Linked DNA regions of Homo sapiens: all the other regions are linked to region 4. The links are contacts of gene promoters, found by promoter capture Hi-C in blood cells and fetal thymus (Javierre and others, 2016). All regions are on one chromosome and are shown on one strand. The core of a region is centred on a gene start or on the middle of the fragment in contact, and the rest is flanking DNA. Distances in the headings are between cores, read along the strand shown. Region 1 has its middle 5.6 kb from the start of PLK2. Region 2 overlaps IL31RA (interleukin 31 receptor A). Region 3 overlaps SLC38A9 (solute carrier family 38 member 9). Region 4 holds the start of SETD9 (SET domain containing 9).

What was found. The method cuts DNA at HindIII sites, captures the fragments that hold promoters and counts their contacts. A CHiCAGO score of 5 or more calls a contact.
Region 1: a contact is called between a fragment that was not itself captured here and the fragment with the promoter of SETD9 in region 4, in 2 of 17 cell types (neutrophils and total CD8 T cells). The highest score is 6.4, in neutrophils.
Region 2: a contact is called between a fragment that was not itself captured here and the fragment with the promoter of SETD9 in region 4, in 1 of 17 cell types (monocytes). The highest score is 6.5, in monocytes.
Region 3: a contact is called between a fragment that was not itself captured here and the fragment with the promoter of SETD9 in region 4, in 1 of 17 cell types (total CD8 T cells). The highest score is 5.1, in total CD8 T cells.

What each region holds. Positions count from the first base shown.
Region 1 is chr5:58,464,361-58,467,092 of GRCh38, reverse strand. No RefSeq gene overlaps it. Among named protein-coding and RNA genes, the nearest start is that of PLK2, 5.6 kb to the right of the region's middle. RefSeq lists an enhancer at 70-119. The HindIII fragment of the contact is 963 bases long and covers 990-1,952 here.
Region 2 is chr5:55,897,939-55,900,638 of GRCh38, reverse strand. IL31RA (interleukin 31 receptor A) reads right to left here. Exons shown (of 15, transcript NM_139017.7): 8 at 507-723. Among named protein-coding and RNA genes, the nearest start is that of IL31RA, 48 kb to the right of the region's middle. The HindIII fragment of the contact is 7,038 bases long and covers 1-2,700 here.
Region 3 is chr5:55,707,002-55,709,825 of GRCh38, reverse strand. All of the region lies in intron 2 of SLC38A9 (solute carrier family 38 member 9), which reads left to right. Among named protein-coding and RNA genes, the nearest start is that of SLC38A9, 3.9 kb to the left of the region's middle. The HindIII fragment of the contact is 2,357 bases long and covers 275-2,631 here.
Region 4 is chr5:56,907,957-56,910,845 of GRCh38, reverse strand. SETD9 (SET domain containing 9) reads right to left here and starts at 1,250. Exons shown (of 6, transcript NM_153706.4): 1 at 1,103-1,250. The coding sequence starts at 1,200. RefSeq lists enhancers at 1-589, 685-734, 1,525-1,614 and silencers at 775-984, 1,165-1,374. The HindIII fragment of the contact is 6,770 bases long and covers 1-2,889 here.

The sequences.
Region 1 (2,732 bases), core at 222-2,721, 1.6 Mb before region 4:
GAGGTCCAGAGCTGAGTCATCTTCTTCATTGCCTGGTGGTGACAGCCTCCTAGGTGCTTGTCCTCTCACTGTCTCTCTCTTGTCAATTCCCCAAGTCAAAAGCAAATTTTTAGAAAGGCAAACAAAAACAGTGCTTATTTGTTGTTCTTTCTCCCTGTCAGTTCCGTTCAGTTTTGTTGAATTCCTTTCAGTAAACCAGATGCTGGGAACAGTATCTCTCCACTCTACCTTGGGTTAAACTCCTTCTTGTCCATCTCTCCTGCCTTTGGTAGTTTTTCTTCTTGCCCCTTCCTTTCTCCTGAATATTAAATAATAACTAGCATTATAGATTTCCCACCATGTGACAGGCACTGTTCTAAGCACATTCTATGCATTGGCTTGTTTAATCATTATAACAATTGTCTTAGCCCCTCTGGGCTGCTATAACAAAATATCACAAAACTAGGTGGCTTATAAACAATAAATTTATTTCTCACAGTTCTAGGAGCTGGGAAATCCAAGATCATGTTGCTAGCAGATTTGGTATCTGGTGAGGGCCAACTTCCTCACAGATGGCACCTTCTTGCTGTGGTCTCACATGGTGGAAGGGGCAAGGAGTATCTCTTCAGTCTCTATTATGAAGGTATTAATGCCATTTATGAAGGCTCTAACCCCATGAGCTAATCACCTCCAAAGACCCACCTCTTAATACCATCACAATGTAGGTGAGAATTTCAACAAATGAATGTTGTGGGAACAAAAACATTCATACCATAGCAACAACCTTATAAAATGTTGTCATCCTCTTGTTACAGAAGAAGAAACTGAGACATAGAGAGTTTCAGAAATTTGTGCAAGATCAAATCTAAGAGGTATCTTGTTTTCTCAATAGTTTTATATTTATAAATGTGTCTATCTAACAAATAATTGAGTTTTTACTCTGTCATGTACTATTCAAGGCATGGGGAATATAGCATTAAACTAAGAAATGTACCTGTCCTCATGAAGCTTTCATACCTGTGGGGAAGAAAAGTAATAATCAATTAAGCAATATAAAGTATTTTCGCTGCACCCTATACTTATAGTATAAAGTGTGTATTGCAAACCTTGATGAGATGATAGAATGTAACAGAGAGTGGAACACAAAGTTCTCTTTGATGAGCCAAATCACATCCTTAAAAAATGTTTTTATATGTATTTTTAAATAGTAATGTATTCTTCTGGTTCAGACATTAAAACACATAAAAATGATCAGAAAAGTAAATAATCTTCTCACAAAAATATGTAAACAAGTAAACAGAAGAAAACCTATTATTATTAGTTTGCTATTAATCCTTCCCAAAAGTTTATGCTTTATGCATAATTAAGGCTATAAAAATATGTTATTTTCCCCTCATTTTTTATTCCAAGGAAACATATTTTACTATACCATACACTATCCTATACTTGCTTTCCACAGTATTTATTTTGGAGATTTGTGTGTGTGTGTGTGTGTGTGTGTTTTGAGGCGAAGTCTCACTCTTGTCCCCCAGGCTGGAGTGCAATGGTGTGATCTCGGCTCACTGCAACTTCCGCCTCCCGGGTTCAAGCGTTTCTCTTTTTTTTTTTTTGTATATATATTTATTGTACTTTACGTTCTAGGGTACATGTGCACAACATGCAGGTTTGTTACATATGTATACATGTGCCGTGTTGGTGTGCTGCACCCATTAACTGGTCATTTACATTAGGTATATCTCCTAATGTCAAGCGATTCTCTTGCCTCAGCCTCCTGATTAGCTGGGATTACAGGCACCTACCACCACACCTGGCTAATTTTTGTAATTTTAGTAGAGACGGGGTTTCACCATGTTGGCCAGGCTGGTCTAGAACTCCTGACCTCAGATGATCGGCCTGCCTCAGCCTCCCAAGTTGTTGAGCCACCGCGCCCGGCCTATTTTGGAGATTTTTTTCATATCAATACTTAAAAAGCTTCTTCATTTTGTTTTTACAACTGCCTACATTTTCACGGCATGAACACATCATCATTTAACCAGTTTTCTATTGATGGCCACTTAGGTTGTTTCTAATCTTTAATTATTACAAGCAACACTGCAGTGAATAACCTTATACATGAGGGGTCAGCAAACTGTTTCTGTAAAGGGCTAGGTAGCAAATATTTTAGGCATTGCAGGCCATTTGGTCTCTGTCACAGCTGAACTCTGCCATTGTAGCATGAAAGCAGCCATAGACAATATATCTACATAAGCAAATGGGCATGGTTGTTTTTTGAAAATTATTATTTTTTCTTTTAATAGGTTTTTGGTGAACAAGTGGTATTTGGTTACATTAAGTCCTTTAGTGGTGATTTCTGAGATTTCGCTGTACCCATCACTCAAGCAGTGTACACTGTACCCAATGTGTAGTCTTTTTAAAAAAAATTTTTTTATTATACTTTAAGTTCTGGGATACATGTGCAGAATGTGCAGGTTTGTTACATAGGTATACACGTGCCTTGGTGGTTTGCTGAATCCATCAACCCGTCATCTACATTAGGTATTTCTCCTAATGCTATCCCTCCTCTAGGCCCCCACCTCCTGATAGGCCCCAGTGTGTGATGTTCCCCTCCTTGTGTCCATATGTTCTCATTGTTTAATGCCCACTTATGAATGAGAACATGCAGTGTTTGGTTTTCTGTTCCTGTGTTAGTTTGCTGAGAATGATGGTTTCCAGCTTCATCCATGTCCCTGCAAAGAACATCAACTTATCCTTTT
Region 2 (2,700 bases), core at 9-2,508, 1.0 Mb after region 4:
AATGAACAATTTATTGGCAAGTATAAACACTAGAATTTTTCCATAGTGACAAATGGAAGGGGAAAAGGAAGAAAACAGGACAGCAAGCATTAAACCAAGGATGGGGATGTGGTGAGTACCCATTTGTGGGGAGAAGAGTTCAAGGGCAGCTTCGGTCACGGAGGACAAATGTGAGAAATAGGACAGTTTCATAGGACTTGACCCAGCTTACATTCACCCAGACCAGAACAAATCAAAGCTGCACACAGAACTTCTAGGTGTATGGCTTTGTATTCTGTAATTTATAAAGTCTCTGATTTTTAACGCAGGCTTTGTTCCAAAGGAACATGACTTCAAGTGATTCATTAATTACCAGCAAATTCTCATTGCTTCACCACAACCTAAAAGGTTCCCACTCCATTTTCATTTTGACTCAAGAGAAACAGCCACCCTTGAGAGCACAGGGACTGCTCCTTGGCCAATTGATGGGACCAGGCACCTAAGGAAGAAGTTGATGCTCTACTTACATTTTTCTTGAATAGCTGGAATCCTCAGGGTGGCCACTGGAGACTTCCCAAGAGAATTATAAGAAATCATAGACACCCAAAAGCTCTCGCCTCCCAGATGCAGTTCAAGCTGCTGGTTAGTAGTGTTCATTGTTTCTGTGAGGTTAGTGTTGCTTTCTGGATAGTACCATATGTTGTAGCCAAGTGTTTTCTCTAGGACTGGGGCTCCTCTTGCCTTCTGAACCCAAAGAAAACAAAATTTATTGCCAATAACAAAGAAAAAGAAAGGCATTGAGACAGTGAGAAGCGGTGGGGGTGAGGGTGGGGAATAAGGCTAACTATTAGATACTAAACTACAATCAGGTAATTACCCTCCAGGGATGAATAAGATCCTGGGCTGTGATAGTAACACTTCAAGTGCCAGAAGAGGGGATTTACTAAATTTCATCTAATTCCATGAGGCTAAACTAGAAGAATGCCCAAAACAATGTAAACAAGCCACCCTTATTTCCTTCTGCCTGTATCTTTCGCTCCATCCCACTCGTGTAAAGGAGTAAGGGCTAAAAAGCTGACACATTCCCTCTCAGCCCATCCAAAGTCTGGTCTGGCTCTGAGTCATCTCTTGCCTGGAGTATCCAAAGGTTGGAGAGTACCCTATGCCCTAGTCTTTTATTTCCATGCCTCTCCCTCTGAGAAGGGAGCCAGCTTCCCTGGACCAGGCGCCCCAGCCAGGCGTCCTAGCTAAGAGGGCCGCACTGCCAGTCCCAAACCCTTGGCGAGAAGTTTAAGGTGGAATCCTGAGGACTTTAAGCTAAACTCTTATTTTCAGCCTTGAACTTGGGCCCACTCACCAGACATTTGCCTAGGAGACAGTATTTCCCAGAATTTATAGGGCTTCCCCTTCTGTTACTGATTATACACATAGATGGAGCGTAATGCCTGAATATAAGTCCAGGACTTATAAGTGGGACTTTAGCAGGCACTTCGTCCCACTGCCTTCCCAGTTCAGGAATTTCCTTTACTTTTATGTCTAGGCATAAAAGGTCAGCTAGAATCTTCCTAATGACCAGGAGCCTTTTATCTCTCAAGACGACCCATTTTCTATTTTATTGTATTTATTTATTTATTTTGAGACAGAGTCTCTCTCTGTCGCCCAGGCTGGAGTGCAGTGGCCTGATCTTGGCTCACTGCAACCTCCGCCTCTTGGATTCCAGCAATTCTCCTGCCTCAGCCTCCCGAGTAGCTGGGATTACAGGTGTGCACCACCATGCCCGACTAATTTTTGTATTTTTAGTAGAGACAGGGTTTTGCTGTGTTGTCCAAGCTGGTCTTGAACTTCTGACCTCAAGTGATCCCCATGCCTTGGCCTCCCAAAGTGCTGGGATTACCGGCCCAGTCCACGCCCAGCCCCATTTTCTTTTTTAAATAACACATATTCTTTTTAAATAACATATTAATATGTTATTTAAAATCTTTTTAAAAAACATATTAATATGTTATTTAAAATCTTTTTAAAATAACATTAATATGTTATTTAAAATCTTTTTAAAATAACATATTAATATGTTATTTAAAATCTTTTTAAAATAACATATTAACATTTTAAATAACTTTTTTAAATAACATTCTTTTTAAAATAATAAAAATTGAGATACAATTCACATTCCATAAAATTCACTGTTTTAATGTGAGTTCAATGGCTTTTATTAATAGTATGTTCAGTCATGCAACTATCACTATTATTTAATTTTAGAGCATTTTAGTACATTCTTTTTTAACCAACTCAAATTCTTAGAGAGCTCTTTCCTTTTGAAGGTGCGGGGGGGCGGGGGGGTGGTGTGGAGAAAAAGACCAGACCCAACAGGCGACGGGGAGGAGGCGGGCACTGAAATCCATCTTCTCTACTTCGCAAGCTGCCCTACTTGGCCCTTCGCCACTGCTATGTAGCTAAGACCACATGTGGGCGTGTGAGGTTGTTGGCTTTCCTCCCCCAAAAATGTGTTGCCACAATCATTTGTTTTCATACTTGATGGCTGAGAAAGACAGCACAGCATCTGGGATTGATTCTCTAGGATTCCCCGCCATCTCTGGCTGTTGTCCCATGCGGCGGCAGCACCGCCTCCGCAACCCAGGGAGTCCCATAGCCCTGCGGGTGTGGAGGGAGTGGGCGATGGTGCGGGAGCCTCCAACCCTGAGGTAATTGGAATGTCATCTG
Region 3 (2,824 bases), core at 204-2,703, 1.2 Mb after region 4:
CAAAGTGCTGGGATTACAGGCGTGTGCCACACACGCCCAGCCAGTTAGCCTTAGATTTCTAATCACAATCTTAAATACTATATATTTCAGTTACATACATAAAATAATATGCTTTTAATTGTGATTTTATAATACTCTAAATACTTACAATAAAGGGTAAACTCAGCATAGGAGGATGGAATACCAACCTGAACTACAAATTGAAATAGTATTGTTTAGTATTTTTTTTTTCTTTTTGGGGTTAGGGGCAGAGTTTTGCTCTGATACTCAAGCTTTAGTGCAGTGGCACTGTCATAGCTAACTGTTACCTTGAACTCCTAGGTTCAAGCAATCCTCTTGCTTCAGCCTCCCAAAGCATTGGGATTACAGGCATGAGCCACCACACTGGACCTATATGGTATTTTTTAAAAAGTATATATGGGCTTAAAAGTTAAAAAAAAAAAATCACTTAGAGGTTAAAAATGTCTACCAGGCCTGCATTTTGTAACATACTTAAATTTCTGTCGTTTGCTAGGGTTTTTTTCTTTCTTACCACTGAAATATAACTTGAGAGCATTTAGTGTTCCCATTGTAGAAGGAGAGATTCTTTGGTACCACAGCGTTGCTTTGGTAATTTTTTTGTGAGACCACACTATCCTCCAGCACTGTCAAATTTAACGCCTTTTGAAGCATTTATTGATCAGGTTGGAAGCATGTTCCAACTGTCACATCAGAATAGGAGCATTATAGATCCTATTGGCTAACCAGTAAATGATTCATCAGGAAGAGATTTAGATAAGTTTGTTATTGGAGTTTATAGCTGTTACAGACTAATACAGAAGAAAATATATATACATAGCATAACTGCTTCCACCAGGGTGACTTTTTTGTGGTGTGGTTCCATTTGCTTTTATGTTGGCATACTACAGAGGTGAGTAAACTATGACCAAATTTGGCCTGCTGACAGATATATTTTTTTCATAAAGTTCTATTGGAACACAGCCATGCACACTCAATTGCCTTTCATGCTAACAGGTAGAATTGAGTAGCTGCAGAAACTATATGGCTCAAAAAGCCTGAAATATTTATTATCTGACCCTTTACAGAAAAAAATATGTCAACCTCTAGCCTAGGACACTGAGTATAAATGTAGTATCTGAAACTCTATAACATACACAAAAGTATTCAGTAATATTCATTTTTAGTCTCTGAGAAAGAACATATATAATAGTTGTATGTGGGTCCATAGTCACATTTATTTGGGCACAAGCTAGTGTATTCTATTGCAGATTGATGCTAGCATCTTGGCATAGATTCTATAGATTTATTTTTGCAAAGAATTGTGAAAAGACATTTCTGAGCCTAGTATGGAAAGGGCTGATATTCTTTGAGATACGCCAATAATCACAGTCAATACCTTTTTAAAATAATGTCATACCAGTTTACTTTGATTGCTCTCTATGTCCTTTTTACGGAGAGAAGTGCTTCAGTACAGGCACTAACATTTTTTGTTCTTTTAGAGACAGTCTCACTCTGTCACCTGGGCTGGAATGCAGTGGTGCCATTGTAGCTCGCTGCAATCTCGAACTCCTGGGCTCAAGCAGTTCTCTCACCTCAGCCTCCCGAGTAGCTGAGATTACAGGCATGAGCCACCATGCCTGGCTCAGTCACCAACATTTTAAATAAAAGTCGAAAGTACCAAGCAAGTCAACTAAGCTGTTCATTCCCTACTGGGACCTATCTCAGTCTCTTGGTGCTGCTCTAATGAAATACTTGAGGCTAGGTAATTTATAAACAATAGAAATTAATTTCTAGCAGTTGTGGAGGCTGGGAAGTCCAAGATCAAGCCACCTGCAGATTTGATGTTTGGTGAGGACCCGGTCTCTGCTTCCAAGATGGTGCCTTGGTGCTGTGTCCTCACATGGGGGAAGGGATGGAAAGACAAAAGGGATCTAGCTAGTTCCCTTCAAACTTTTCATAAGGTTACTAACTCCATTCATAAGGGTTCTGCCTTCCTGACATAATTACCTCCAAAAGGGTCTACCTGTTAATACTATAACATTGGCAATTAAGTTTCAACATATGAATTTTGGACGGGACACAAACATTCAAATCATAGCTGGACTCCTTATTAAAACCAATCTTAAACAATTAGAGACTCATTTAATGACTTAGATTTGACTTAGTGGTCTTGCATCTGGGACTTTGTTTTAAAACTCAGAGATTGAGTGAGATGTTAAAAGTGATTATGTCTGGGTTTTGTTTTGAGACAGAGTCTTGCTCTGCAACCTCTGCCTCCTGGGTTCAAGCAATTCTCCTGCCTCAGCCTCCCGGGTAGCTGGGACTACACGTGTGTGCCACCACTGCTGGCTAATTTTTGTACTTTTAGTAGAGACAGGGTTTCACTATGTTGGCCAGGCTGGAATATGTCTGTTTATGTCATCTTGTATATTTAGCCCCTACCAAATTATATCAATGTAATGTCTGACAAATTAATACTATAGAAGTATTTAGCATTTTTGTTAATCATTGATAAACTATTCTGCATTATCACCTATGTAATATTTGCTGTGGAACTCTAATTCACCTCTCAACCTAAGTCATCAAACTTCGGGATATTTTATACTTCTCATCAAGACATTCAAAAAAGCTTTAAGACTAGGCATGGTGGCTCATGCCTATAATCCCAGCACTTTGGTACTTTGGGAGGCTGAGGCAAGAAGATTACTTGAGGCCAGGCTGGGCAACATAGTGGCGCACAGCTGGGATCCCAGCTATTTTAGAGGCTGAGGTGGGAGGATAGCTTGAGCCTGGCGGGAGGAGGTTGCAGCAAGCCCAGATGGCA
Region 4 (2,889 bases), core at 1-2,500:
AGCCAGAGGCAGAAACGAAGTTCAGCTCTTTCCCGTACTACACCCAACAGCCAAGCTGAATGTCATCACAATGAGAATGAATGACCTCACATTCAATGGCTTTTTAAAAATGGCCTTGTAGTTTCAAAGACAAATTCAACATCGTATACTTTGTGACACTCCCTCCAGGACGACTAACGTCTTCAATGACTGCACCTCTTATTTCCATAATCATTATCTTTTTGTACTAACTGCATTATTTTTACTTGAACAAAAAGGTTGTAATTCCCGCCTCACGGTTCCGAGTCATGATACAACTGATCTCCTGTTTCCCTAGCATGCAACCTTCCGGAAACCGCTTTGTTTCCCTATTTGTCGGACACTGACTTCAGGGAGGCCCGGTCGGCCTCTTTGGTGAGCACGGTGTTGAGCTGATCACTGGTGCGCCCTTAATAACGCCGGCGGGACTCACCCCAATCCGAAACCCACCATCCCGACGTGCTTTTGAGTGGCGTTCTGCCCGTTCTTAACGCGCGAGCTACTGCACGCTATTCTCACAGCCGGGATGGGCTTCTTTAACCACGTGAAGTACTTGTATGAACTATGAAAATAAACCCTGGCTTGGCTTTTCTGAGGAAGTTCAAGCACCTAATTAACCCCTGGTGGAGAAAAAGCCACGCACTCTCACGCGGTAAGGGCAGTCTTTTTAAAAAGTTTCCATTTTTGCCCAGATACAAGCTCCCCAGTCAGTGCCGAACGCAACAGGGAAGAACAGGCGACACATCCGGCTGGCGAGCTCGGCCTCGCGGGCCCGGCAGCGCAGCGGACACTGGGAAAGAGGCCATAGGCCCCGCCCACCTGAAGCCACCGCCCACTTCAGGCTTCCAGCGGGCCTCGGACTCCACCAACCTCGGCCCCGCCCGCCTCTGGCCCGCGTTCCTTAAACCCCTCCGAGGCCTCAGTCCCCGCCCACCCGGCCCGCCCACCTCAGTCCCTGCCCACCCGGGCCCGCCCATCTCAGGCCGGCAGTCAGCCTCAGGCTCTCCGCTTTGCGTCCCGCCGCCGTGGTGGCGTCTGGGAACCGAAGGCAGGTGCCCCTCGTTCTGCCGTCCCGCCCTCTCACCTCGGGTTGTGGCTTAGGTTCAGTGCGATCCAGGGAACGAAGCGGTACTTGTAACGGCGCCATCGCTGCCACAGGCCCCGCAGCAGACGGCCAGGCATGGCTGCCCCGCGGGGCCGTGACCAGGACGGCGCGGGGAAGGCGGATCGAGGCCTCGGGCCCGCCCCGGCCCGGGAGGAGAGGGGGCCGCGCTCGGCCGCCTTCCCCTGGCTCCGCTCTCAGTGTTCCTGGCACCGCCTGACTTCTGTTGCTCTGGGGCTTCGTCCTTCCCCTTTCCTGACCTCACCTCTCTGAATGAGAGGCGCGTAGAGCTGGAAGGAGGTCCCCTTGACCACTTTTTCTTTCTCCGGTCGCTCGGGTGCTTCCGTGGGCGCACACAAGCGCTAGCCCTGGTTGCGGGCGAAGGGTCACCGGGCCTCAGGGGCGAACCCGCCCCCGAGACCGCGTCCCAGGAGCGGACCGCCTAGTTTCTCTGTCACGGCTGTCTGGCCTGCCCCTTTGTCCCGGCCGCGCTCTGTGTTCCATCCTCCGTCCACTTGAGCTCTGCCTCTTCCTCGACGTTCTCTCCCCTTCTCTCCGTGGCCCCAGAGCAGCCCGACTTCGGGAACCCGAGTTTCAGTCCTCCCCAGACAGCAGCCCTTCTTCTGCGTGAACCCGTGTTCCCAAAGTTACCAGTTTGGGCGTTTTGCGAATATTTACACGTAAAAAAACAAAGTGTCATGATTCCCTGTTTTCACTCGTTTTTCTCTTCATTGACCCAACCATTCAAAGGCAAAACTACATGGACAAATGTTTCTGAAAAACAGCTTTGTTGAGGAATGGTTGGGATACAATAAACTGCACATATTTAAAGTGAACAATTTGATAGGTTTTCGACACCACAGCCAAGATAGTAATCCAGCCCCTCCCCCAGTCCCCAAGCAACCACTGAGGTGCTTTTGTCCTTTTAATATGGTCTTCGCTTCAATTTGGAAACGTTTTGTCTAGAAGTTCTGCATCTGTGTTCGTGAGAGATATTGTTTCGTAGTTTTCTTGTAGTGTCTTAATCTGGCTTTGGTATTTAGGCTAATGTTGACTTCATAGGATGAGGTGGGAAGTAGTCCCCCATAGGTGAAATTTAAAAGGAACTTTACGACCGCTCCTCCCCAACACCCAGATGCATGCACACGCACACACATATTTAGAACAGGTTTGGACAAAGTTCAGTTTTAAGGGGGGCAAACTACAGGAATCCCTTAACCATATTCAAATCACCAAGTGTTTATTGACAGATAAATACGTTGGTATCATTTCCTCTATTCTTTGCCTGAGAGTGAGGTTGGATCCTAAACTATTGAAATTGAACGGCTCAGATCTAATAAAAACTCAGCCAAGGCCGGGCGCAGTGGCTCACGCCTGTAATCCCAGCACTTTGGGAGGCCGAGGCGGGTGGATCCCCTGAGGTCAGGAGTTCGGGACCAATCTGGCCAACATGGCGAAACCCCGTCTTTACTAAAAAAGAACAAATACAAAAATTAGCCGAGCGTTGGTGGCACGTGCCTGTAGTCCCAGCTACTCAGGAGGCTGAGGCAGAAGAATCGCTTGAACCTGAGAGACGGAGGTTGCAGGGAGCCGAGATCCGCCACTGCACTCCAGCCTGGGTGACAGAGTGAGATCCCGTCTCAAAAAAAAAAAAAATTCAGCCAATCGCCAGTAGCTGCGGGACTAATTTGTTCTATTCTGAAAGAAATAAAGAGAAAGAGTATCTACCAATGTCTCTATTTCGTTCATATCATATAGAATGTTAGCAA